6 separate regions of the Homo sapiens genome follow, and regions 2, 3, 4, 5 and 6 are each linked to region 1. Evidence: promoter capture Hi-C in 16 types of primary human blood cells and fetal thymus (Javierre and others, 2016). All regions are on one chromosome and are shown on one strand. The core of a region is centred on a gene start or on the middle of the fragment in contact, and the rest is flanking DNA. Distances in the headings are between cores, read along the strand shown.

Evidence for each region. The method cuts DNA at HindIII sites, captures the fragments that hold promoters and counts their contacts. A CHiCAGO score of 5 or more calls a contact.
Region 2: a fragment that was not itself captured here is called in contact with the fragment with the promoter of MLF1 in region 1 in 1 of 17 cell types (M0 macrophages); the score reaches 5.7 in M0 macrophages.
Region 3: a fragment that was not itself captured here is called in contact with the fragment with the promoter of MLF1 in region 1 in 6 of 17 cell types (M0 macrophages, M2 macrophages, endothelial precursors and 3 more); the score reaches 8.5 in M0 macrophages.
Region 4: a contact is called between a fragment that was not itself captured here and the fragment with the promoter of MLF1 in region 1, in 1 of 17 cell types (M0 macrophages). The highest score is 5.1, in M0 macrophages.
Region 5: a contact is called between a fragment that was not itself captured here and the fragment with the promoter of MLF1 in region 1, in 1 of 17 cell types (erythroblasts). The highest score is 5.4, in erythroblasts.
Region 6: a contact is called between a fragment that was not itself captured here and the fragment with the promoter of MLF1 in region 1, in 1 of 17 cell types (M0 macrophages). The highest score is 5.2, in M0 macrophages.

The regions. Positions count from the first base shown.
Region 1 is chr3:158,569,196-158,573,632 of GRCh38, reverse strand. It overlaps MLF1 (myeloid leukemia factor 1), which reads right to left and starts at 2,439. Exons shown (of 8, transcript NM_001369783.1): 1 at 2,286-2,439. The coding sequence starts at 2,332. MLF1-DT (MLF1 divergent transcript) reads left to right here and starts at 2,567. Exons shown (of 5, transcript NR_104147.1): 1 at 2,567-3,462. The HindIII fragment of the contact is 5,771 bases long and covers 1-4,134 here.
Region 2 is chr3:157,596,549-157,600,985 of GRCh38, reverse strand. It overlaps the pseudogene SLC66A1LP. Among named protein-coding and RNA genes, the nearest start is that of VEPH1, 95 kb to the right of the region's middle. The HindIII fragment of the contact is 1,026 bases long and covers 1,471-2,496 here.
Region 3 is chr3:157,613,997-157,618,433 of GRCh38, reverse strand. No RefSeq gene overlaps it. Among named protein-coding and RNA genes, the nearest start is that of VEPH1, 110 kb to the right of the region's middle. The HindIII fragment of the contact is 992 bases long and covers 1,917-2,908 here.
Region 4 is chr3:157,651,000-157,655,436 of GRCh38, reverse strand. No RefSeq gene overlaps it. Among named protein-coding and RNA genes, the nearest start is that of VEPH1, 150 kb to the right of the region's middle. The HindIII fragment of the contact is 2,535 bases long and covers 499-3,033 here.
Region 5 is chr3:157,839,357-157,843,793 of GRCh38, reverse strand. No RefSeq gene overlaps it. Among named protein-coding and RNA genes, the nearest start is that of SHOX2, 260 kb to the left of the region's middle. The HindIII fragment of the contact is 600 bases long and covers 1,720-2,319 here.
Region 6 is chr3:157,866,899-157,871,335 of GRCh38, reverse strand. No RefSeq gene overlaps it. Among named protein-coding and RNA genes, the nearest start is that of SHOX2, 240 kb to the left of the region's middle. The HindIII fragment of the contact is 3,322 bases long and covers 382-3,703 here.

The DNA of each region.
Region 1 (4,437 bases), core at 1,190-3,689:
TATTACAAATTTCCCCTCTTAGGGATACAACTAGACTATGTCAATGTGTTTGTAACAATGGCCAAAGTTAGAATTAAGGAAAAAAAATCCCACAACTCAAAAATAAATAATAGTGAAACCAATTTCTGGATGCCTTCTTTCTAGGGCATCACATTACTTCACTGGGAACCTTCAAAGGCAACGAATGGCACTTGCTTACCTGAGGTGTTAAATACACACCCCCCCCCCCCCGCCGCCCTCCTCCCGCCCCCCTCCCCCCGCCCCGCCCCATCAGCTTCCCTGTCCTATTTCTAGTTTTGACAGAAAGCGGAGTCCCTTCACAAACAAGGTTAGCTCTGTAACAAAGCGAGCAAAGAAAACAGCGCAATTGGCATGGCAACTTCCAACAACTTCGAAGAGAAAGCACAACTCTCCAACTTTGTCGTGCTCTCATTGACACATTCCCCACTCACATGGAAAATGCTGTTTTAAAAACTTCCCCTTTTCAATGAACTGTCATGCTATAAAATATTACCTGTTCCTATTTGGAATTTAAAGAGGAGCTATAAAATATTCCCTGCTCCCATTTGCAATTATGTGAACATAATTCTCACCATAAGTTTCACCGAGATGGTAGTTATGTCACCTGCAAAGCCCTTGAAGCTGCAAAGGCCAACTCTGCACACAGGAAGCCATGACGGGCACCCAAAGTCCGGCCAAATGGAAAGCAGCAGGCACCCCGGGAGTGTGAGGAAGGGCCTTCTTTCCATCTCATGCAGCCAAATCCTCCTCCCCCTACCTGGGGCCCTCAACTCTCTACCTCACGTCCTCAACCATCCTCCTGCGACCTCACGCCCCCAAACCCTCCTCCCCCCACTGCACGCCATCAACTCTCCTCTGTCCACCTCACACCCTCAACCCTCCTACCCCCACACCTCATGCCCCTAAACCCTCTTCCCCACACCTCATGCCCCCAAACCCTCCTCCCTCCACCTCACGCCCCAACCCTCCCTCGTCCCACTACCTCTCACCCTCAAACCTCTTCCCCCTACCTCACGCCCTCAACCCTCCTCCCACATCATGCTCTCAAGCCCTTCCCACCAACTCACGCCCTCAACCCTTCTCCCCAACCCTCCTCCCACACCTCATGCCCCCAAATCCTCCTCAGCCCCTAAATCCTCCTCCATCCACCTCACACCCTCAACCCTCTTACCGCCACCTCACGCTCCCAAACCATCCCCACCAACTCATGCCCTCAATCCTCCCCTGCACTTCATACTCCCAAACCCTCCCCACCAACTCACGCCCTCAACCCTCGTCCCTGCACTTCAAGCTCTTAACTCTCCCCTGCACCTCATGCTCCCAAACCGTCCCCCCACCTCACGCCCTCAACCCTCCTCCCCCCACCTCGCGGTCCAAAACCCTCCTTCCCCTCACCTCACACCCTCAACCCTCCCCCACACCTCATGCTCCCAAATCCTCCTCCCACCTCACGTCCTCAACCCTCCTCCTACACCTCACACCTTCAACTCTCCCCCACACCTCATGCTCCCAAACCCTCCCCCCACCTCACGCCCTCAACCCTCCTCCAAACGCCTCACACCCCCAAATCCTCCTTCGTCCATCTCACACCCTCAACCCTCCCCCCTCCACCTTACTCCCCCAAACCCTCCTCCTCCCACCCCACGCTCCCAAACCCTCCCCCCACCTCACAGCCTCAACCCTCCTCCCCCCACCTCACGCTTTCAAACCCTTCCCCCACCTCACGCCCTCAACCCTTCCCCTCACCTCACGCCCTCAACCCTTCCCCTCACCTCACGCCCTCAACCCTTCCCCTCACCTCACACCCTCAACCCTTCCCCTCACCTCACGCCCTCAACCCTCCTCCCTCCCACCTCATGCTCCCAAACCCTTCCCTCACCTCACGCCCTCAACCTCTTCTCCCCACCTCATGCCCTCAATTCTCCTCCCCCCACCTCCCGGCCTCAACTCTTCTCCCCCCACTCCCAGCCTTAACTCTCCTCCCCACACCTCACGCCCCCAAACTTCCCTCCGCCTACCTCACGCGTCCAAACCCTCCTCTCTCCACCTCATGCGCCCAAATCCGTCTCTTCCCTGTCTCACACACCCCTAAATCCTCCTCTCTCTTCCCTCCCAGGCCTCCAAATCCTCGTCTCCTTCAAACCGCCTCCAGAGTTACTCCGAATTCTCTCTCGCCCTCTAAAACTCGCTCTTTTCCCTTAAAATAGCTCCCCTCGATACCTTAATTCCCGCGCGACCCCGGACTCCTGGCTCCCGTAACTCACGAGAAGAAGGGGTCATCCTCAAAACTGCTGTTCAGCATCCTGAACATTCTGGCTCTGTCTTGGGTGGCGGCAGCCGCGGACAGATTGGAAAAACGATGTTAACTCGCCGCGGCCGCGACAAGAGCTAGCCTCCAGTACGGACGACGCCTCACTCGCCGCGGCGCAGGCGGTGCCCGCCGGGATAGGAGGTGCGTGACACCGAGCTGCTTTCCCATTGGACATTGCTCTGTGACGTCACCAGGACGAGGCGGGGAGCAATGCGCCGCTGCCCTGGCAACCGCAATCAACACAGTGGAGGCGAGAAGTCTGGCCTTGCGCCGGCCGGGGAGCTTTTCGCCAAGGCTCCTGTGGGATGGGATAGCTTGTTCTCTGGGCTGCAGGAACCAAAACATTAGACCACCCTTTCTGTGACCTTGGGCATGCCGCCCTCGGTTCCGAGCCGCAAGTCTTTCTTTCGGGGAAAATGAAAAGGGGTCAAGATTTGGACCAGATGACACCCAATGTCCCATTCAACGGTCGCATTCTGTCATCCACAGGAATTAGTCCTGTATCCGAAACATTCTCTGGTAGTCAAAAGCTGTGAGCAAATAATAAGAAAAAATGTGCAAAACGTTTTTTAGTACAGTTAGCAAATAGTGTACTCAGTTGTTGAAGGAAATGGGATGAAGCCTATCAGATTTCAACAAACTTATTTACCTCTTGAGAAAGCTGCTCTCTTTTCGGTTGTCCTTCTGTGTCTCTCTTTCAAAGATCAAGTCTCACTGCGATGCTGATATGTTTTTAACACTTCTCCAGCATTTCTTAACCTAACAGCAGGTTTCAGGCACAGGCCTGCAGCAAGCAGCCATATCCAACTAAAATTCCACTACTATATGTTTTTATTTGCATTACATTTATCAGGGAGCTTTCTATTTATGGCAAGGAAACTGATTTTAAATTTAAATCAGTGATATACATCAAGAGCTAGATTTTGCATTTTTAAGTGAAAAAGTAAGCTATCAAATAGAACAGGTGGAATTTGGATATGGTGGGGCGGAGGGGTAGGCAGAGCAGGGGAGAGGAACATCGTGATAGTGGTACTCAAATTACTAAGTTTTAGAAAACACTATCACGGGGCCTTTCAGGAGCCTGGAGACAGATGGAGGGGAAGACAGAAGAGAGATTAAGGAGAAGAATGGTAAGAGTATAAGAAAAGAGAAAATACATCTTGCATGTCCACCCTTAATTCAGTGAGCTCCCCAGCTTCTCTACGTGGCTGTCTTGCAGAGATAAAGGGGCGTCCATAGCTCATCAGGGCCCCCTGGGATCAGGCCAGAGGGGTGGCACTTTGCCAGCATGAAGAAGTGTGCAAGCCCTGATTTGGAGGTGACAGGAGTAGTCAGGGGTTATTTTGAGAGCTGGAAATTTAATCGTTTGGATCTTTTACTCCCCATCCCCCTTTTTTAGCCAAGTTCTCTGGCAGCTTCCTTCCCCTGAGACTGGTGGCATGGGGTAGGGCAGACTTCACAGCCCAAGATGAGATGGCACAGCCCATCCAGGAAAGAGGATATTTTCTTTTCCTCTGGACTCAGAATAAAGCTCAGAGAACATATACACAAAATTTCGAAAATTTCTAAATAAATTTCAAGGCAAACAAAATTGTTTTATAAGACCTTAAATTGTTTTTCTCTTTAAAATAGTATAAGCACAAGATGTGAAGGAGGCCACACTTAAAAAAAAACTTGAAATGGAGTAAGTTATGTGATAAAAGATGGTGTTAAAATAGTTCTGGATTAAGGCCAAGTAAATTTGTAATGTTACCCTCTAGTTTCTGTGGGAACTTTTTTAGAATCACATTGTTATAAAAGCTTTAGTCCAGGCACAGGTTAGTCAGGGAATTAGCTGAACCTTGTGAAAGCAGTTTGGATCTAATGACAAATGCAAAAAAAAAAAAAAAGGAGGGCAGAGCAGAGTTGGCACTGAAGAGACCTTGACATCATTTTCAGAACTGATGGGTAAGAGGTGGAAATGAAAGAAAGCGTGGGTCAGGAGAGAATGAATACTCCAGCATGGGAGGAATAGAGATGCAGAACAGGACTGAGAGGAGAGGGTCCTGGACTTGGCTGTAAATATAATCATAATAGCTAATATTTATTGAATGTGTGCCAGGCAC
Region 2 (4,437 bases), core at 734-3,233, 970 kb after region 1:
GTAACTCAATCTTGCTCTTCCCTGGTGTTTGTAGGTGGCAAGAGCTGTGCTGGAGGTTGAGGCCTTGCTCGAAGACACTTGCAGGTGCCACTTGTCTGAAAAGTTCTAATCTATAGTTGGTAGAAATCACAGCAGGCTGAAGGCCAGGGGATTTCTCCTGGGCTTTCCACTTTACCTTTGTGATTTTGTCTAAGTCATTTAACTTCCTAGGGCCTCAATGTCCTCATTTGTAAAATAAGGAGATAAGTCTATTCCTTTAAGCACTACCTTTCTAGATTGTGTGACATATCATCTGCAAAGTGCTTCTATTAGTCAAGAGAGAGATACAAACTGCCACATAACAGGGCCTCTGTGGTTTATAATGATAATAGCTAATATTTTTTGAGGCCCTACCATGTGTCACGCAAAGTGCTAAGCACTTTACATTTACCACACTATTGGAAAATAGAAAGATAAATTTTTTAAACATTCTAAACATTTCAGTGTAGAATGTCCAAGAAACCTTCATTGCTTTTATGTATGCCACTTGACTCAGCTAATATACAAATCATCGTTAAGTTATGGTCATATACATTTGTGCATTAATTTAACAAAATTCCAAGTCTTAAGTCAAGATAAATCTTCTCTTAGAAGTATTTATAGTAGTATGGCATAAACAACTGTAATACCCAGGCATGCTAATTTCACTTATCTGAAAGAATATGGGATATATACAGGGCAGAGGACTCCCCAAAGTGACAATCTGACTTTCTCTCTGGTGATGGAGTCTTTGAATAACTGAGGTTGGAATATCCTGGGGAAAGAAGGGAACATCGAAAATAAAATATTACTCAATATTTACATTTCAATTTCAACAATGCTGATTTCCATCCCAAAACAAAATACCAACTTGCAAAATCTTCCATGAAATTTTTGTGAAAAATTCCATGTGAAAAATTCCATGAAAATTTTGTGAACTAGATTTGCTTGTTCACAAACAAGACTTTTTGGCATCGCACTTCTACTCACTTAAAAAATGTACTTGATACAGCGAGAGCTGGATGAGACCAGATAACTTTGTACATTTAAGGTATGTTTATGGTAGTCAACATGCTGCTAATGAAAACTTTTTGATCATTGAAAAGTAAATTGAATAACAAGTTATAATGAATTATAAAAACATATGATGATGATTATGAACCAAAGTTCTTTCATCATAAATTTTAAAATGTGCTGTAGATGCAGTACATTAAAAAAAACTTTAACGTTCAAACCAAATTGTAATTAGCTTTTATACTAAAAAACAAAACAGAACAAAAAGTAAAGATTATGAAGCTCAGCTTCTTAGTCTTGAAAGAATGTTAAATTTTACACTTAGGCCATTTTAAATTATCAGTGTTAATTTAGTTTCAATATTTTACTAAACACGAAACAATGCACATGTACAGGTGTGTGCTTGTGTCCCCTGGTTCCTGACCTAAACATTAAGCTTTACTACCTAGTTTCTGAGCTGCAGTACAATGAAAAGGGAGGGTAGAGTTACTTTTATTCTTTGCATACGTCTTAAACATTTAAAAATATAAAGAATAAATTTTAAACTTGTCAGTTCAGAATTAGGCCAGAGAGGCTCAGGAGCAATGATAGGGTAATGGAAGGAAGGACATGAAGACATGAAGGTAGAATCATGTCCTTTCACAGTGACCCAACACAGCTGTGTCTCCACCTTCTTCAAGCCCCGGCAGATGTGTTACCTTGTGGAGATATACTGCCAAGTGAAAGTGGTTTGGATGTTTTCTTTCTCCTTTTCCTCCAGGCCTCATCCACATAATTCACTAACCATTCATATGACAAAACTACGTAAACTACTCGCAGGAAAATACCCATTTGTGAATATGCAAGTGTGTCCCACTAGACAGAGGGATGCAGCTCACCTACTAAAAAATGTGCAGACACAAAGCGAGCTTTCCATAGAATTCCTGTATCAGACCAACGAGGTGTGTGGTTTCAGGAATCTAGGGAAGGGCTCTTGCTCTAAGGACAGCCATGGTTAATGTTGGCATGCCAACCACTTTAACACCTTCACACAAAGACTTGCCATTTTTCTACAGCATGTTAAAAAATATAGAGTGAAAGTCTACCCAGACTCCTGGGAGAAGCTATTCATTCTTTTTTTAAATTTTATTTTAACAAATATTAATTGACTGCCTACCATGCTTCTATAGGATATCCTGGGATCCAACAAATAGACAAAATCTCAGCCTCCATAAATCTTATGTAACAGTGGAGGAGACAAGTAGGTCATGACCAATGCATTTATGTGAATGGATTTTACCAGTTTCTTCTATAGTAGTATCACCCCGAGTACCAAGACAGAACTGGGCACTTTAAACCTGAGAAACTGACTATGTCCATGTCCTAATTCCTCAGCTTTTCTGTGGCTTTTTCATGTTCCCATTAACGGCACAATTCTGAAGTTGTGTTTTTGCCACTAAGACATGTTAGAAAGATATTTAAGCTTTTGTGGCAGAATAACAGTGTGAAGTATTAATCAATGTTTTCCCCCTGTCCTTGGTATTTCCTTTTTTTCACTAGTAGAGAAAAACTTAAATGCATATTGTTCTTTAAAACTATTTCTGTTAAATCTCAGAGTTTTTCCAACACGATTACAAGGAAAAAGCTAAATGATGGGCTGGATACTTTTTAACTAAATGAAGTCAAGACCTTTATGTAAGAGTAAAATAACAGAATGAAGTTAGAGAGGACACAGAGCTGGTGTGTACATTACATGTTTAGGTGAGTGACTTGATTTCCAGCAATAAAATTCTATCAAATTCAATTTCCTTTCACAAACTTACAGTGAGTAAATGCAATTTCCCATTCCAAGCAAGCATGTCTCTAAGATTAAACTTATAGTCCATAGAAGATAACAATAAAAGTTTAAAGTCAGTACTTCTCCAAGGAAATTACTGCAAACCAGTTAGGGAATAATTTTATGACAAGAAACAGAAGAAATATAAACATGAAGAAAAGAGACCTTCATCCTAATCTTGCTGTTTATATTCTTAGTGTGTTTAAAATAATCTTCTTGTATTTCACTATTATATATTAAGAATTTCTGGCTGACTCAGTCCTTCATATTCACCAATTCCTATGCCAATAGTCTCCCATTCTTCAAAATTAGCCATGAAACTGAGTGCTGAAGTTTGTGATCCTCTAGCTTTGGTCACAATTTCAGCCAAGGCTAAATCAAATGCATTTCAGAGAAGGTTTAACCTTCTATTCCCATTACTCCTTAGTGTTATCCACACGCTTTCAGCTGAGTGCCTTACTGCGTCCGGGAACAAGTGATGGTGCCTAAAAGAGAAAATCAAAGCATGTTCTCTGATTTTTCAAAAGTCTAACCTTTGAAGGAAAACTGAAAAGACGCTTGTGCATAAACAGTATGAAAAATCTGTGAGGATGCTTGGTTGTATAAGTGCAAGACTTGCTGCCCCAGAGATTAGGAAATACTCCCCATAGCAGAGGAAGGAGCAGCAAGGAGTGAGTAGATGCTGGGGGCCTTAACAGAGGGAGCCTGCAGTTGCAAACACACAGAGCCTTGGAGACCTGATAAAAGAGGAGACCCATCTCTCTTTCCTGGGAAAAGCCTGGGGAGTAGCAATATCTCAGAGTAGAGGTGACTGCCTCTTGTGTCAACATAAATTTGCCAGAGGTGACCACATAGTTTAGCCCTGCACAGGACAGGGTGGGAGGAGCAGGCTCAGTCTCTTGTGTCTTGGAAATGCGTGGAAATTAGTGGAGACCCAAAGACTTGCACTGGGGTGTGAGGTATGACATAGCAATAAGGATCAAATGGAAATGAGGACATTTCAGTGGATGCCAACAGGAAAAATGATAATCCAGATGAGATGGAACACCCTCCTGTGCACCCCCACCTCCTTGACTTACTATAATTTAAATTCCCAATAACTTACAGCAATCCCTAGGAGATAGGTAGAAGATACTCATTATTGACTAAAACTAAGATTTTATCACCTATTGGAATGGGAGCTTGAAATAGAAATTGACTTACAGGAAAATAAATGTCCATTTCTTCCACACATAAGTGTATGGACAATATTCTCACCTACTACATTTTTATAAGGAGTTTAGAATTTTGGCTTAATTGGGGTTAGTTGGGGTGGTTCTGGGCAAGGACTTGTTTTGGCAAAGAGATTTTATATCTTTTATTCAGGTTGTTTGTTTGTTTGTTGTTTAGAGGTTGAAGGAATCAAAAGGAAGAGAAGGCTTTAATTTACAGCCAAAACCAGAAGTGGTCATTTGGAAGTCACTAGTATGAATCCTGGATTGGCAATGACTTTTACCAAGATAAGCCAAAAAAGCATTTAAAATTAGAATCATAAGGATTAAAGTATAAAATTATTTGGTATCAAATATAATCTTGCTCTCAGAACTGTT
Region 3 (4,437 bases), core at 1,163-3,662, 960 kb after region 1:
TACCTTCTCGCTTGTGTAGATGCAGGTTTGTAAGTACAATAGATCCTTTGGTAAAATGTTTGCACCGAAGAGGCTGAGTTATTTTATTTTTGAATTGCAAGTTCTCCATCTAGTGGTCAGTTTCTAGAACAACAAGTTCATGGTGTTACTGATGTCATCCTTTGGATGCAAATTACTTAGTTCGCCTTTTTTTTTTTTTTTTTTTAATGACTAATGCCTGCATCAATCATAGCAAGCTATTGAGCATATAACTTCCGGCAGGCACAGTTGGCAGTGGTTTTCAAGAACTAAAAGTATTTGTATATTGGCAATTTAAATCACAGCATTTTCCATTGCTGAGAACAACTTCCCTGACTTATTATTTAAAATTTAATTACCTTGACATTGTTTCTGAGGTGAAAAAATAGTCCATAAGAAAATTTATGAAAATGTATGCTTAAATTCAACATGTATTCTTCAACAGGAGAAAATGAAAGGGAGTCAGGCGTTCATTGGGTATTTGGTCACTAAACAAAATGTCTATGAACTGTTTTTAAGTTTAATATTCTTGATGGAGCTTGCTGGGCAAGGAAAGATAAGGAGTCTGCTGACCTCTAAAGAAACAAGGGGATCTGATGTGGCTACATTGTCCACTGCAGTGGTCTCCAAGTGTGAGAATTATACTACTGATTGTATTGGAGAAAAATTCTTCTCACTGATGACATTAGATAGCATTGGAATCAGGTCCAGAATCAGTTTCAGTTTTGTCCTCTTAGGTCTTTAACATCCCTGAAACCTGCCAATCATCCTTTCTAATAAAAGAGAACGGATTTCCAGCATGTTTTCTTTGCCCAGGCAACAATATACAGTTAAAATTTCATTTACTATTTTGCATTGTCTTTAGTTAATAACTTCCTATTAATGGCAAGTGATACCGCCTTTTCATAAAGTCATGATATAAAATTTCCCTTTAAGATAAATTTATTGAAATAAAAATATGAGTCAATTTGAAGAAAAAACATTGAATTGTATAGAAAGCATATGGACACGGGAACATCTCACGGATGCAGGCCAATAGCAACATGAGCTGAAAAAGATTCTACTCTGGGAACTCAGGGTCTGTTCACTGCTCTGGATCTGCCACTCACCCTCTGTAATTACCTGCGTGTGTTACTTAAATCTCTTTCGACCTCCATTTTCCTCATCCATGGAGTGTGGCTTCTTAAAGCAACTTTTAAAGTGGAATTATTCTTTGCCTGAATTCAGAAGATGGGCATGGAGATAAGGAAGCAAATAGAACATCCTAAAGCAATCTTCGCCAAAGAATGAGTGGGACACATGGAAGACCCAAGGACACACAGAGGTGGTGAATTATGTCCAGCCTCCGACCTGTACTTACCTACAAGCCCCAAATTATAGTCATGGTCTCCAAAATTCTAGCTCATGCATACTAAAGACCCATTAAATCAAAGAAGTATCAAAATATATCATTTCTTATTATGGGATATCAGAAACAGAGTAGAATCCTGCTTCTTAAAGCCGTGCAAAGGACAACCCAGTGGGCATACAATGTGGCTTTGGCCCCCCTGAAGGCAGGCTTCTCCTGAAGCAGAAGAAACACTTGCTGGGGAAAGCTGGGCCTGAGGGGGCCCAGGGGCTGAGGCCTTCATAGCAGAGAAGCACCACATATGCATAGAGCAGTGTCCACGTGGGTTCACATGGACTGCGGGAGCCTGAGATGAAACTCCACCTTCTTCTTCACTGAGCCCCAGCCTGGGCCTCATGCCCATGGTCTGTGTATGCTGTCTCATCCAGCCCTGACACCAACCCTGAAATACAGGTATGTTACCCAGTGTTAACACAGGTGCAAACTGAGGCTCAGAACGAGTGAGTTCCTTGCCAGAGGGCACTTGACTTATAAGTGGCAACACCAAGCTTGAGCCTGGGTCTCTGTGATCTTGGAAATGCAGATTCCACTGCCAGCTGGGACAGGAAGCCTGGGCTCCACATGGGAAGCCATGACCCCCTGTACCCCCCACCATAGACAAAAGCACTGGGGCACAGAGAGATTGGCTTTTCCCCTCTCTGGGGTATGATTGGTGAAGTTAATCAGCCCTGAGTCTCTAGTGTTCATTCTGTGACACAGCACACACACACACACACACACACACGCATGCACGCATGCACATATACACCAAAGTTACCAGTTCCAAACCTTTTGTTTTATTCCTCTTAACCCTCCCCTACCCATTCACTCCCATAAGAACTATGGCCAATCCTGTCCAGGCTTGAAGAACTGGAGCCATTCAGTGATACGCTGCCCTGGGTCACAGATGGCCACATGGAGTGACTGCCCCCATCCCAAAGAAGAAGAAAGGATTCCCCCCGCCTTCCTCCCTGTCTCCATCAGGAACCTACATGATGCTTCCTTCTCCTGTGGCAGACGACTCTCCTCTGTCCACCCTAGAATTGATCTATGAAATATAAAACTAAGTCACCAAATGAGAGAATAGCCAATTGCCAGAAAACACAATAAGCAGCTGAATTCTTGTGCTCTTCTGAAATGACCCCAATATACTCAGTAGGTACCATGTGTCAGGCACTGCAGTAGGCAGGGGGTGGGAAAGAAGAGGCCTAGGGCCCCACTCATGCTCCCTTAGAAGGAAAGATGCAAAGTGGTATGACTTACTACAATCCATGGTGGAGTGAAGCGTCATGTCACCTCTTTGTGCATTGGTTGTTTCTTTTCCATTGTCAAATGGAGATAATAACACCACCTATGTTGTAGGGTTGTTTTGAGGAAAAGACCCATACACTTAACATGTGGCCTGGTACATAATAATACATGCTATGCACCAACATCCTTCTCCTCATCATCACCATTGAGATAATGACCGTGTTAGACTTTGGGTGACATTAGGGGTAAGCTTTGATGGCTGGAATTGGGCAGATAGAGAGGTTTGTAGCAAGAGCAGTGTGGTGCTCTGGGTGAGGGAATTATTCTGAAATAAAGTCAATGGGTGGAAAAGCTGAAAGAGAGAGGTTGAGTTTAGGGAACTCTTAGAAATGTGGCTTGGCAGGAAAGCAGGCCTGTGAAGGGAGCGGTGAGCCAGTGTGATGAAGGACCTGCAACTCTGAGGTGAGGAGTTTGAATGGATAAGCAGTGGAGACCCACCAAAGACATCTATTGATTAGGGTAAGATAAGGAGATAGGTATTTCCTCTGAGTAAAGTAAACATAGACAGGGAAAAATCAAGGCAAGGGAGACCAGTCAGGTAGCAGTAAATCATCCAAACGACTGAAAGGTAAGCACTTTGACCTGGTGTATCCTGACCAGGGTGACTCAGAAATCCAGACACCGTTACTCCCTGTTCTTTCTCCTCTGAAGTGTGGCTTCTATTCAAACAGAGCAATGGGAATCACCATTGTCAGAAGCTGAACTCACATGCCCATTGCCCAATGCCCCATACAGGAGAAATTTAATGAAAACCCAAGTCCATTTCCTCTAAGATTGTGACTTCTAGTCTTTCCTGGAGCTTAAAAGGAAGGCTGAGACAAAGTTCGGATGAAAGTTTGCAGAGCACCACTGACCTCAGCTCCTGGTCTGAGGACAGCCTGTCTCAGAGACTCCCTTGCCTCTTCTTTCTGGGATTGTGATTGGTGGGTGCAGCCTGAGACGTGGTTGGCTGAAGAAGTCTCTTCGTGAGGGAATTAAGCTACTGTGGCTTCATAGGAGGCCAGTTCCAGAGCCGTCTCACCTCCCATTTACCTTCATCCTCTCCTGTGGAACTGGTGTTTTCCTTAGGCCCAAAAGGAGACAAGAGCTGTGAGAGAGGGAGGTGAGGTTTTTTTTGTTTTTTGTTGTTGTTTGTTTGTTTGTTTGTTTGTTTTGAGATGGAGTTTCGCTGTCGTCACCCAGCCTGGAGTGCAATGGCACGATCTCGGCTCAATGCAACCTCCACTTCCTAGGTTCAAGAGATTCTCCTGCCTCAGCCTCTCAAGTAGCTGGGATTACAAGCACCTGCCACCATGGCCAGCTAATTTTTGTATTTTTAGTAGAGACGGGGTTTCGCCATGTTTGCCAGGATGGTCTCGATCTCCTGACCTCAGATGATCCATCTGCCGAGTTTGGCCTCCTAAAGTGGTGGGATTACAGGCAGGAGTCTTTTGAGAGGATCCATCACAATGGTTGGGCAGAAGCTCAATGATTCTAACTTGGCTCATGAATGGCGTGGGGGTAGGAAACACAGCCAAAATATTGGCTATGATTTGAATGTGTCCCCTCCAAAATTCAAGTGTTGCAGTGTGATAATATAAAGATATGAGGCCTTAAGTGATTGGGGCATGAGGGCTTCTCCTGGTGAATGGGATCAAGGCCCTTATAAAAGTGCCTCTGCACGCAGGCTCATTTGCTTGGTCTTCTGCTAGCCCCCTTCCAAAGGATACAGCCTCCACCAG
Region 4 (4,437 bases), core at 517-3,016, 920 kb after region 1:
GGAGGAAGAGGTTGCAGTGAGCTGAGATCATGCCACAGCACTACAGCCTGGGCAACAGAGTGAGACTCTGTTTCAAAAACAAACAAACAAACAAACAGAGCTACAGTTAATTAATTCACAGCGAAACAAAGATTGTTCTGTGAGGCACATCTATGTTAAGACTGTGTATTTTTAGCCTGCTAATGAAATAATTGTGTTGGTTAAGGAGGGTGGGTGAGTATAGATGAGAAAGTGGACTGCAGGCACACCCAGCTGGTGTGGGAGAGAGGTCCTTCATCCAAGACAACCTGGTTCAGCATAGAACAGATTCATCCTAGAGGAAAATGCTTTCACCAGCTACTAAAAATCAAATATATGGCATTAAAAAGAGACTCATGTTTCTACACTACAAAATTAAGTGCATTATCTGCTCAAAAGCTGTGGCAAACTGTCATTTTAAATTATATCATATTAATATGATATAGAGGAAGCAGTAAGGATAACAGGTGGCTCTAAGCTTTCCCTGCTTTCAGTGTTGGGGCATGGAAATCTATTTTTACTACCCCAGAAAACACCGTCGCAATGGACTGAATGTGTGCATGTGTGTGTCCCCTCAAAATTTGTATGTTGAAATCTTAATCACCAGTGTGATGGCATTAGTAAGTGGGACCTTTGGGAGGTAATTAGTTTATGAGGGTGGAGCCCTCATGAATGGAATTAGTGACCTTATAAAGAGACCCCAGAGAGCTCTCTTGCCCTCTTTCCACTATGTGAGGACACAGTGATATAGCCATCTATGAACTAGGAAATGGGCTCTCACCAGACACCATGCCTTTCAGCACCTCCATCTTGGACTTCCCAGCCTGCAAACATGTAAAAAGTAAATGCTTGTTGTTTACACCACCCAGTCAGTGTATGATATTCTGTTACAGCAGCCTGAACTGACCAAGGCAACAATACAGTTGTTTTACTGTAACAACAGTAAACAGATTTACTGGTACTTGGCTCCCAACTGTTGTTCAGTATGTGGAAATGCAAATATCAGATTTTAATTTATTGACGTAAAAGCCAAGAGAAGGAAGCCCTGGAATTTTCTAGCTGCTGGCTTCCAGGTTTACCATTTTCAATGGTGCACTTCACTAGCATGAAAATGCTCATATTTTGAATAACAAAATTAAACACACTAGCTAATATGTATGTAATGTTTAGTAAGTGCCAGGTAGTATTCTAAAGGCTTTATATACAATAACTTATCTAGACTTTATACCTGCCCTATGAGTTAATTACTGTTATTATCCTCACTTTACATATGAAGAAACTGAAGCACAGAAGGGTTAGACAACTTGCCCAAGTCATGTAGCTAATAAATGGTATCCCAGGGAATCATATAGATAACATGATAAGTAAAAAGGAAAAATAGACTAGTCTGGGATAAGTGTGATTTGTTAATATTCTGGTTTTTGTAATACGTAGGAAAGGAAGCTGTGATTATTTCCCGTCATTCCTCCTTCCCTTTTCCTCAGGAAACAGACCATCTTGCACAAGCTGAGTACTTTGCTTGGTCAGCACCTTCATCCGCAGAGGTCCACTCTGAGCTCTGACACACCATTTATTTCTTGTAAGGATACCATAGAATGGGCAGGGAGATAGTTTAGCATCTATTCTTCCAAAGATACTCAACAAATCTTCCAGAAAGTACAACAGATAAATTTAAAATGACAGGAAAACATTGCTCATTTTGCTCCGTCTTTTAAAAAATTGGTACTTTTGTGAATTTTTTTCACAGTTATTGAATAACTTGTGCTTATTGTTGGTGAGAGGTAAAAGTAATTATTTAATTTACAATCAGACAATAAAGTTTACTACACAGGCCAGAAAGGGCTGGCTCTGGGCAAAATTGTACAGAGAGCATTTGAGAATGAGAAAACCTGAAAGACATTCTATCTGATCTCCTGACTTTACAGATGAGAAAACTGAGGCCAGAGAATTGACTTACTCCAATTAGGAAATTCTATTATGTGGACTTCTAATCCAGAGCTATTCAGAACATACATTTACATTACACATGGACAAATTCACATAGAGACACACACTAACATGTATGGACTCCCACATATAGAGACACATATGTACACACTTGCATACAGTCACACACTCACAAAGGTACACACAAACACAAACACAGACATACACAGGCATGCACACATGAAGTGCACCACTTTCATAGGAAGCCATATTTTCTGCCTAAATTCTTCATTAATAATCAGATAGTTAACAGCATTACTCTTCCCTAAGAACATTTGCATTTTAATAGATGTCTCCAGAAAATAAAAGTCAAGATACAAAATAAAGAATTTTAATGGTGTAATTTCACACAGAGAATCAGAGATTGAGTGCTGGCCCAATGCCCTTCAAGTTGCTTCTTTGAGGAGGCTTTTTTTTGTCCTTGGGACCACATGTGTGTATATGCAGGAGTGCATAGGTGTTGGTGTTTGTGGACATGTCTCTCTATGAGTGTGTGGGTCCAAGTGTAGTGTATATGTATGTTCTGAATAGCTCTGGACTGGGATTCCAGATAATAGAGTTTTCTAATTGGAGCAAATTACATGCATTCTCTGGCCTCAGTTTTCTCATCTGTAAAGTCAGGAGATCAGGCAAATATTCACTAAATGAACATTCTTGAAAAGATGCTAACATATCTTCTCAATCAAATTTGGCCCCAACCCCTCTTGTCAGAGTTCCACTTTCCCCCAAGTATGATTCATTTAAGAATAATTCTCAAAATAATTGTTGAATGCAAAAGAATAATGTGTGTAAGTTATGAGAGAATTGTTCATTTTTCTCTATTTTTCCTCTTCAAGAAGACAAACTGACTTGGAGCCATGGCTGTGGTTTCCAGCCAGCTGGGTTTGTCTTACTGCTAAAAGGAGACTATAATTCTTTCCCCCAGGATCCTCCTGTTCCTTTCAGGTTCAGAGCTCAGCTGTGGATGGAACCCAAGTGTGGCTTTCCCATTTTTAACATTGAAATACAATGTTCATTAGAACAAAAGCTTCTCGTCCATATTGCTGAGTTCGATATAAGTGGTCTGCCTGGCCCACACATCACAGCTTCCTTCATATTGCAATGATATTGTAAAGCTCACATTGTACATTGAGGTCAAACTCAGCTATTGATCTATTTAAACATAAATACTACAATTAATTAGAGATGGGCTTAAACTAAAATATCTGACCTTTCTGGGTTCTTGAGAGTAGCATTGGAATACTTTCATATAAGAGCTAAAAATCCTGAGAAGGACATTTTCTACTCAAAATTACTTCCAATAAATGACTACACAGGGCTGGACCAAGGACCTGTTTCACTAGTATTCAGAGTATTCCATGAGGTTAGCATGAAATGACCATGTCCATTTACACCAGGGAAATTCAGGGTGGCTGTGGGACAGGTTGGTGAGGAAAAGGCTTGTTTCTTGAAATACGTATATGCCGAAGTGGAGAAAGAAAAACAGGAATATTTTTCACTTGGCTTCTAGCCTCCTGGAGTATCTGTCATCTCCCAGTGATGGATGCTTGCACAGGAAGCATCCATCCATGTAGGAAGATGGTGCTCCACACCATCCAGAAAGCTTCATTCATATTCCAGTTATCTTTCCAGAAATCCAGGAATGGACCAAGGCAAAGGTAGACACCAGGCTCTCACAGAGGCCCCTCAATGGTGATTGGGGGTGGGATTGGGGCCCCCAAGCTTTCCATGCATAAAAGAGCACATGTGTATGCTCGCCACAGTGGCACTCCTGTGGCTTTCACTGAACTAATAGGCAACTCCAGTTTTTTATTGTGTCCAGGAAGGTCCCACATGATGTGACCCCTGCCTATCTCTTCCACTTCAACCCACTCCTTCCTCCCCTGCTTTGCCATGTTCTGCTCTACTGGCCTGTTTTTTCTGTTTCTTGAATGCTACAAGGTTTCTCCTTTCTCAAGTGGTGTTGCTGGGTGGGACTGTGGAACGCTGTGCCCAGATGGTCTCAGGGCTGGCTCTTCCTTGTCATCCCTTCCTCAGGCCTCAGTTCACCTGTCCTCCCTGGCCAGCCTCTCTGAAGTAGGCCTGTCCCTCTCTTTCCACAGTTTTATTTTCCTCTCATCACTTTATTCCTGAGATTCTGTTGTTCATTTTATTATATTTTCTCCTTCTGTTACTCTTGATGAAAGCCTGATGAAAACAGTGAAACTATCTGTCCTTTTCACTGTATTTGACACATAGTAGGTGCTCAAGCATTATTTTTTGCATGAAGAAAACAATGTTAGAGTTTTAAGGGGAGTGCAATGAAAATTTCCCTCTCAAAATTTTCTTCTTCATTAACATATTATCAGGCAGAATTGAGGCTTAAGACACCAACGTATTACACAAGTTGATAGGGCAAAGATGGCTCTGGAATGACATTGGCTATTGGAATAG
Region 5 (4,437 bases), core at 770-3,269, 730 kb after region 1:
ATGCAGCATGTCTTTCATTAAAGGAGGCAGAGAGGTTAATGGGGACTTCTGCATTACTCAGAGCTGGGTTTCTTATGACCCTGTAGCTACAGCTGTATTATTCTCATCTGTTCTGCTGAGGAGACATTAAAATATCCCCCACAAACGGGAATACATGGAAGGTAAGATCTTCCTTGGTGTTGCTCACATCCGTATAGATTTTTAGCCTTGCTCATTTTGCTGCTGCTGCTACTATTGTTGTGGAATTGCTAAGGGAGGTACCAGTGGTCTTTTCTTTAAGGATGACAGAAGAAATGGCCAACAAAAACATTATAGGCAATGTGCCTACATAACAGTTATGAAACACATTTCATTTCTTAAATTAATTATATAATGGGGCTAGGTATTCATGGCACCAATTACTGTTCATAAAAGGCTCTTTTAAAAGATGGGAATAAATAGAAGATTTTTTTTGGAGGGAGTATGAATTAAAGACTCCTTTCTCCCTCCTCTCTTATTTCCACATAAATTAATCCTACAATTTAATAAACTAACAGGTGGTTCCACTTCAGGCTGAGCAGATGTTAGACTGAATGAATGGAGTCCCCTCTTGTGTTCAATCTATCCCTGAGCTCTTTCTTTCTTTATCTCTTCCCATTCCCTTTTCTTTTCCCCTATTTCTGCCAGATTTATGAGCAGCTACGGTATGAACTGTTTTGTTTCAGCAATATGAATATTAATGAGTGACAAATGCTTATTCTAGACGTATTGGTGACATTCATAATTCTGAATGTGTAGACATTTTTCACCAAATAATGAGGTACCAGATTGCCATACCAGGAAAGTTCCTTCTCTTGGTGCCTATAAGTAGATAATTTCTATTACTTTACAGATGGGACTCTAATAAATTGGAAACTTATTCCAGAAGAAGTTAAGAAAAAATACAACATTAGACTCATCACTCAGAAAATCCCTATATTGCTCAGATGCATTATTACTTCAGTAACATCTTTGACTCCCTTCTTGCCCCCACCCCAGTTTAAAAGGAAGAGCTTTCTATGTCTTCTTCTCTTCAGATCTAACCTAGAAATGATTTCATGTTCTTAGTTTCACAGAGACTTTGTAAATAATGGAATATAAGAAGTAAATCAAGAGAGAATTGTAATGTTCCCAACACAAAGAAAACATAAATATTTGAGGTAGTGGATATCCCAATTACTCTGATTTGATCATTATGCATTGTATATATGTATTAAAATATCACACATACTCCCAAAATATGTAAAACCATGATATAGCAATAAATTTTTTTTTAAAGGCTAGAAGACATTTGTTGCTTCCAGTAAATCTTTTTACAATTCTTCACCCAGGGAATGGCTTTTGGACAATGTTTAAAATGGCACTATTTAGGTGAAAACTGTTTTTCATTTTTTATACTAAAATTACATATATATTTTATGCTTTTGACATAAAGTCAGATTGTACTTAGTAAAGACTTATTTTCTGGGTCGTACTTCTGACTCCTGACTAAAAATATACCTGGAAGCTCATGGAATGTTCCTGGCTCTTCCAAAGCATTAGTAAAAGTCACTTTCTCTGCTTGGGACTATCCAGACATAGTGGAGACATGGCTGATGAGAGGAAAAAGTCCCCTCAGCAACCAATCATCAAGATTGAGACAACACTGAAAAATATCCATCCTGTTCCTGGCTTTTCCCCTTCCATTCTTTTCCTAAAGCTTATCTTCCAATAAGAAAGGAAGATAAGGAAGCAAGAACAGAAGATATGATTTCTCTTAGTATTGGGATAGTTTCATCTTTGATTTTAGAAAAGCAGCAAAGAATACATTCGATTTCTATCACTGATTATAAGTGAGGCCTCTGGAAAGTTAGGACATTATCTACGTACATAAATGAGTTTCTTCTACTTATAAAATAGAGTTGTCAGAACCTGGCGGGAGGTAGAGAGTTCTGAGAAGATGAGGTTAGTGTGTGAACCAGAGTGAGGTGTGGAAGGATTCCCTCAGTGGCCAATAGGCATAACGGCCCATGGTTCTACTTTCTCTGGTCTTATTCTGCATCTCTGATATCATTGGTTTCAGCCTGCTGTTTTCTTTGTCACCTACACTCTGATTTATATTGTGCCTGAGCTTGACTTTTTCTATCAAGCCTCATTCCATAGTGTACCTGATGTTGATTTGACAATGTGATTCTCATCAATTACCTTTCTCATTTACATTCTTGTTTGCTGCCTCGATTTCTTCCTAAATCTTGACCTCTGAGTTCTTGAGCCCAGGCCAACAGCCTGACTTCAGCTCTGATAAGTTTTTCTTAACAAGCTTAGCATCAAAGACCTGAGGCTGTACCCTGATAGGAGCTAGTGTCCCCTGAATTTCATCTCAGATGCTATGGAAATTATTGCTAAGAATACCATCTACCAGGCATCAAGTATCTGTTAGGTTCTAGACTTTGTAATAGAAATTTTATACATGTTATCTCTAATATAATGTGGTATCTCTAACCTAATGAAGCTGTATAGTGTGCAGTGTAAGAGCGTAAACTCTGGCATCTGGATCCCTGGATTTGGATTCTTGTCACATTTATTAACCGTGTGGCTTTGAGCAAGTTACTTAAAACTCTATGTGCTTCAGTTTTCTTATATATAAAATGAAAATAGTATTAATCATAGAGAGTTTTTGTGATAACTAAATGATTTAAAACAAGAAATATGCTTACGATAGTACCTGGCACAGAGAAAAGCTTAATAAATGTTAGCTATTACAGTTATTACTATTTTCAGTCAATATTCTTTGGAAGTGTGAGCACATTAAAATATCATTGTTAAAGTTAGTTTGTTTAGGTTTCTTTTTAATTACTTAATTAAAGAAATTTTAGATTATTTTATCTTCTAAGTAGTTATGGTACAATTATTTTTATTTTTGTTTGCAATGAAAAGTGAAACCATGGAGATATCTGGAACATATTGTTATTTTACATTTTTTTTACTTCCTATGGAAGAATACTGCCAAAGAAGTATTGTTTTTGTTTTAGTGAGAAAAGAATTAGAAAATAGGAGAACAAACCAGAAAAAGCTGACACATCACTTAAACCTACAGCAAATTCGACCCTGTGGATGTCCATAATTAGGCAAAACTTGAGATGTGTTTAATGGTATCAGGCATCTTGTTCTTGTTCTACTGATATTTCTGCTTCTAAAGTAACTGGATCTGGTCCGGACTAATATCACCTAAAATGGTGAATTATAAAACTCCATAGCAATTGTTCATTTGACAAGTATTTTTTTAAGTACCTACCCTGTCCTAGGCACTGTCTAGCTCTGGGGGTTCAGACATGAACAGGGCAAGCAAGGACAGTCCCCTCTTGCCTTTGACATTCTGTTTTTTTTTTTTTTTAAACAGAGTCTTGTTCTGTTGCCCAGGCTGGAGTGCAGTGTGTGATCTCAGCTCACTGCAACCTCCACCTCCTGGGCTCAAGCAATTCTTCTGCCTCAGCCTCCCAAGTAGCTGGGATTACAGTCGTGCGCCACCATGCCTGGCTAATTTTTGTATTTTTAGTAAAGATGGGGTTTCACCATGTTGGCCAGGCTGGTCTCAAACTCCTGACCTTGTGATCTGTCGGCCTCGGCCTCCCAAAGTGCTGGGATTATAGGCGTGAGCCACTGCACCCAGCCTTGTCTCTGGCATTCTAAAGGGGGGAAATGTGCAAGGAAGAATGTCAAAGATGGTGATGTGATGGCGAGTGATGGGGCAGGTGGTTGGGCATTCCTTAGGGTAGGGCAGTAGAGGAGATGTTAGAAAGGAGCCAGCCATTGAAGACCTGGGGCTGAGGGGACAAGCTGAGAACAGATCACATTCAAGAACGTGCCATGAAGTGGGAATGAACATGGACTATTGGAGGAAATGAAAGAAGCCAGTGTGGCTGGAATGTCAGGATAGGTGGACCACGGTAAGAGTTTAGATTTTTAGTGAAATATAAAGTCACTGGAGGATTTTTTTCCCAATTATTTGTGATTTTTTTTCTCTTTTTTTTATTATTATTATACTTTAAGTTTTAGGGTACATGTGCACAATGTGCAGGTTAGTTACACATGTATACATGTGCCATGCTGGTGTGCTGCACCCATTAACTCGTCATTTAGCATTAGGTATATCTCCTAAAGCTATCCCTCCCCCCTGCCCCCGCCCCACAACAGTCCCCGGTGTGTGATGTTCCCCTTCCTGTGTCCATGTGTTCTCATTGTTCAATTCCCACCTATGAGCGAGAATATGCGGTGTTTGGTTTTTTGTTCTTGCGATAGTTTACTGAGAATGATGATTTCCAATTTCATCCATGTCCCTACAAAGGACATGAACTCATCAATTTTTTTTTTTTTTTTTTTTTTTGTGATGGAGTCTCGCTCTGTCACCAAGGTTGGAGTGCAGTGGCGCGATCTTGGCAA
Region 6 (4,437 bases), core at 793-3,292, 700 kb after region 1:
ATGCTTTGTATTGGGGGACGGGGTCTACACATATTTTAAATTTTAAAGGAGCGCGACAAAGCTTTCTTACTTAATCAGAGTCACACACAAATGTAGGCCAGGCTGTTCATCCAGAAGCTTGTATCTTCTTTTGGAAAGTAGGCCATGTCAGTTCACAGTGGAAGGAAGATGAAGATGATGCTCTGTATGACTTCCAAAAAGGTGGGCATCTTTTTGTTTTTATCTGTTTTTCCTATGAGGACAATGACTAGGGTGACCAACTTGTCCCAGTTTGTCTGGGACTCTCCTAGTTTTAGCACTGAAAGTCCTGCATCCTGGAAACCCTCTCAGACTTGAGTGAACCAGGATAGTTGATCATTCTAAGTATGACCCATAAAAGCTTACAAACCAGCATTTTTAAAAGATGTGTGCACAAAAGCACATGCTGCCATCATAAAGGTGGCATGAAGAGGCAGAAGGTACTGATGTCCATCGAGGGTGGGCCTCTGCCCCTTGATTGTCAGCATGTGCTGGGGGCTGGCCCTCAGCTTTGCAAGTGCATTACTGAGATTTTAGAAGCTGATCCATTGTTGATCAGGCTCTAGGTCACAGATGAAAATGGGCTCCTTAGTCAGCAAAAGCAAGGAAGCTCCTGCTGATGTGTATGAGACTTTGTGTGAGTGAGTGATGGGTTCTTGTTGAGCTTAGCCACTAAGATTTCAGAGCTGGTTTGTTGTGACAACTTGTGTCAATATAAAATTTGTCTTGAGGTGAGGTACTATCATTAGAAGAACCTAAAATACATAACATTGCCCTAGCCATCGGGGTGGGTTGTGAGGAAACTAATATTGGAAGCGAAAAGATGATGATCCCTATGGTTTTGTGGCAAAATGTTCAGGTAAACTATTGCTTCTAATAACTAGGCAGGACAACTACTTACCTAATTAATTTGCAGTGCTATGAGAAGATAATGAAAAACAGGACTTTAGTAGTGTGTGATATTATTGGCTATGCTTGACAAGATATTACAAGAAAGATGAGCTCAGAAGAGAAGTGGTCAGTTTATAAAGCAGAAAAGAAAAGGTACAGAGAGAGTTTGAAATTCAGGGCCTTAAAATTTGGAAGAGTTGACTGCTTCTAGAACCCAAACAATAAGAGGTCGTATTTAAAAAGACTTTGAAGGGGAAAAGGTTTCTCACTTAGTTAATAAGCCTCAAGGCAAATATTGCTCAAGCTGTGACCCTCTCATTCAAACCTAATAGCCTAATATCGGTATTCACAATGGAGTTCAGAAAAAGAGGCATGAAGGTGAAGAAGCAAAGAAATAAAACAGATCTAAGAACCTACAAGCTGTAAAGTTCTTTGGGTGTGCTTATTATTTATTTATTTATTTATTTTTTGAGACAGAGTTTCACTTTTGTTGCCCAGGCTGGAGTGCAATGGCACGACCTCATCGGCTCACTGCAACCTCTGCTTCCTAGGTTCAAGAAGTTCTCCTGCCTCAGCCTCCAGAGTAGCTGGGATTACAGGTGCCAGCCACCATGCCCAGCTAATTTTTTTTTCTATTTTTAGTAGAGATGGGGTTTCACCATGTTGACCAGGCTGGTCTCAAACTCCTGACCTCAGGCAATCCACCTGCCTCGGCCTCCCAATGTGCTGGGATTACAGGCATCAGCCACCGCACCCAGCCATGGATGTGCTTATTGTCCAGTGAAGTGAAAAGCAAAGAGAGTTTTTAGGGAACTACATAACTAAAGCAACCATGTAAAGGTATCTGAATATTCAGAACTTAAAACAACCCTGGGGTCCCTAATCGGAAGCAATTTGAGAAACCTGGGATGCCCCTAAGGAGTTCAAATTCCCTAAAGCTCACTTTAAATGTGGCTAAACAGAATAAAGAAAAAGAAGAATCTCCTCCAGGATGAGTCAAAGAGCCAAGGAAAACGATGAAAAAGGAAAGTCTCCTCAGAGAGCAGAATCGTGGCTTAACCAAGGGGCCTCCATCCTGAGGGTAGGAGGTCTGCCCAGCTGGATTCCTGAATTGCTGCGGGTCAGAGGCTGCTGTGTGTCTTCCATTAGTTTCTTTTCAAATGGAAATGTTTACATATACCTTACTGGGTGGTTATGTATGCACATGCATATATGTGGACAGGAAGTAGATAACTTGTCTTTTTTGGATCAGGACCTCAGAACCAAGAAAAGTTACATCATCTGGCTCTGATGGAGAAACAAATTGGACATCATCCAGAAGGATTAAACTTTGAACTGGATGCAATGGTGGATGGATGGAACTTTGGCCGGTCTCCCCTGTGGAGGAATTAGGGCTATTCTGTGTTGGAAGAAAGAAACAAAGAAATATTTGGTGATGAAAAGGGTGGGCCATGGCAGATATAGTAAATGATGATCAAATATTCCATGTACTCACTCAAATTTCCCAGTCTCACTGCAATTAGACTAGGCAGGTATGTGATTAATTAGTGGAAGTGGCCCATTATGCAGGTAGCCATCTTCAGTCTTTTCACATAATTTTCATTTATTTGCAGTACATTTATTTCAGACTACATTTTCTGTCTCTGCCTTCCAATAAATGTCCTGCTTGGAACTTATATCACTCCTATTCACTACCAATAGATGCTATGTTGTTTTTCTTGTGATAATGTTATCAAGCACTTAGGGACCAAAATTTAGTTAACATATATTCAACACTGGACACGCTTCTCCCCAAATCTACCCATCCTTGAAACAGGCTTCTTTGTTTTATGGCTTTGCCATCCTTGGAATCAACTAGAAATGCTAAATACGAAAGTGAGAGATTTCATTACCTCCAGAGCACTGTCTATTTTAAGCCCTCACCATATTTGTCAACTGGGAAACTTTGTCTCAGTGAGCTTTGCAGAGAATGTGATTGGCTAGAATTACAAGTTTTTAGTTTTGGACCACTTCTCCAAAGTGTTACCCTAAGGATTTCAGCAATTCTATTTCTTGGCCTAAAAAGAAGATGACTCATTCAACCAGAATCTGTTCTTAAGTTAAAAAGTCACAAGAGAGACTGTTGCTGATGTGGTAGCCAAAAGAAAGACTGTTATTCAAGTAATTGCTTCCTGACTCCCAGGCCTAGAGTTCTAATTCTATTGATGTCTCTGGTTCTCAAGAATATGAGCTGAAATGCTCATGTGATTGGCCTTATCTTCCTTTCTTCTAAACTGCCTTCCTTAGACACACATGTAAAACTGTCCCTATTCATGGATCATAGCAGATAGGACTAGTGATTCCTTTTCCTCACATCTACTAATTCCTATGAGCTACCATCTTCACTCTTTGCCCAGCTGGTAAGAGAGAAGCCAAGTTATGTGTCTCCAAAGGACAGCACTAGGAAGACTGGGACCCAGAGCAGGCCTGGGCAACAGTGCTGGTGTCCATAGGATGGAGCCCTTGTGAGCAGGTCAGGTCAGCGTTATGACTAGATGTTTCTCATATGATTTGGGGTGTGAGTACAATGATTTCCTACTGGGGCTATTGAATATACCCTCACACCTTTCTCTGTGGTGCCAGGTGATGAGTATGACTTGTGATGGAGACGGTGTGTGGCGGTGGAAAGGGACAGGCTTTGGACATGAGTTCCTCAGATTCTGCAGGCATGGGCTATCTCATTCCACACTTACCACATGGATGCAAGACAAAGTAATTACGAGAGAACATCATCTGAGTATCCAATATCTAAGCTTCTTTAGTCTTGAGTAAAAGTTATTGTAACATAAAACATTAATAAATGACCTCCTATTAGCTCCCATTCAACATTAGTGTCTATCTCTGCTCATGGCATCAGCATCCTTGTCTGTTGGCTCCTGCTGGTTTCCTGATGTGACAAACCCTTGACAATAATGTGAAAACACAAGGGAAATTGACGGCAGAGGGAAATGGGAAATTTTGCAAAATGTGCAAGATTTCATGAAGTTGAGAAAAGTGATGTTTGAAGACTATTTGAATCACATGTAAAATCATTGACAAATGAGGATCTGTCAGGGTTAGCAATGAGAAAGTCAACAGGGATGACTTCACCATGGACATTCAAAAGAAAATCATTGAAGCCTCATTTTATTTTCCTGGAAAAATTGCTGAAGTTCTTGGGTATATTTGTGAAAATTTCTGACCTTTCCTGGGATCTTCTGGGCATGGATAAAGTGAAGAATGCTGTTATTTTGCTATTGGTTTGAATGAAAGCTGTATTAAATCCAGAGAAACCAATCAACACCTGATACATTTTTTTGTTCCTTCCAAGAATTGGCAACTAGTTGCAATTGTCATCTATACTTTGTTATATATAGGATCAGACTTGTTTTCTTTTTCTCATTTTAGTTTCATTTCTTTTTGGTGTTGAAGTGATAATAGAAACTTTTATCAGGCCAAGAGCAGTGGCTCACGCCTGTAATCCCAGTAATTTGGAGGGCCGAGGTGGGC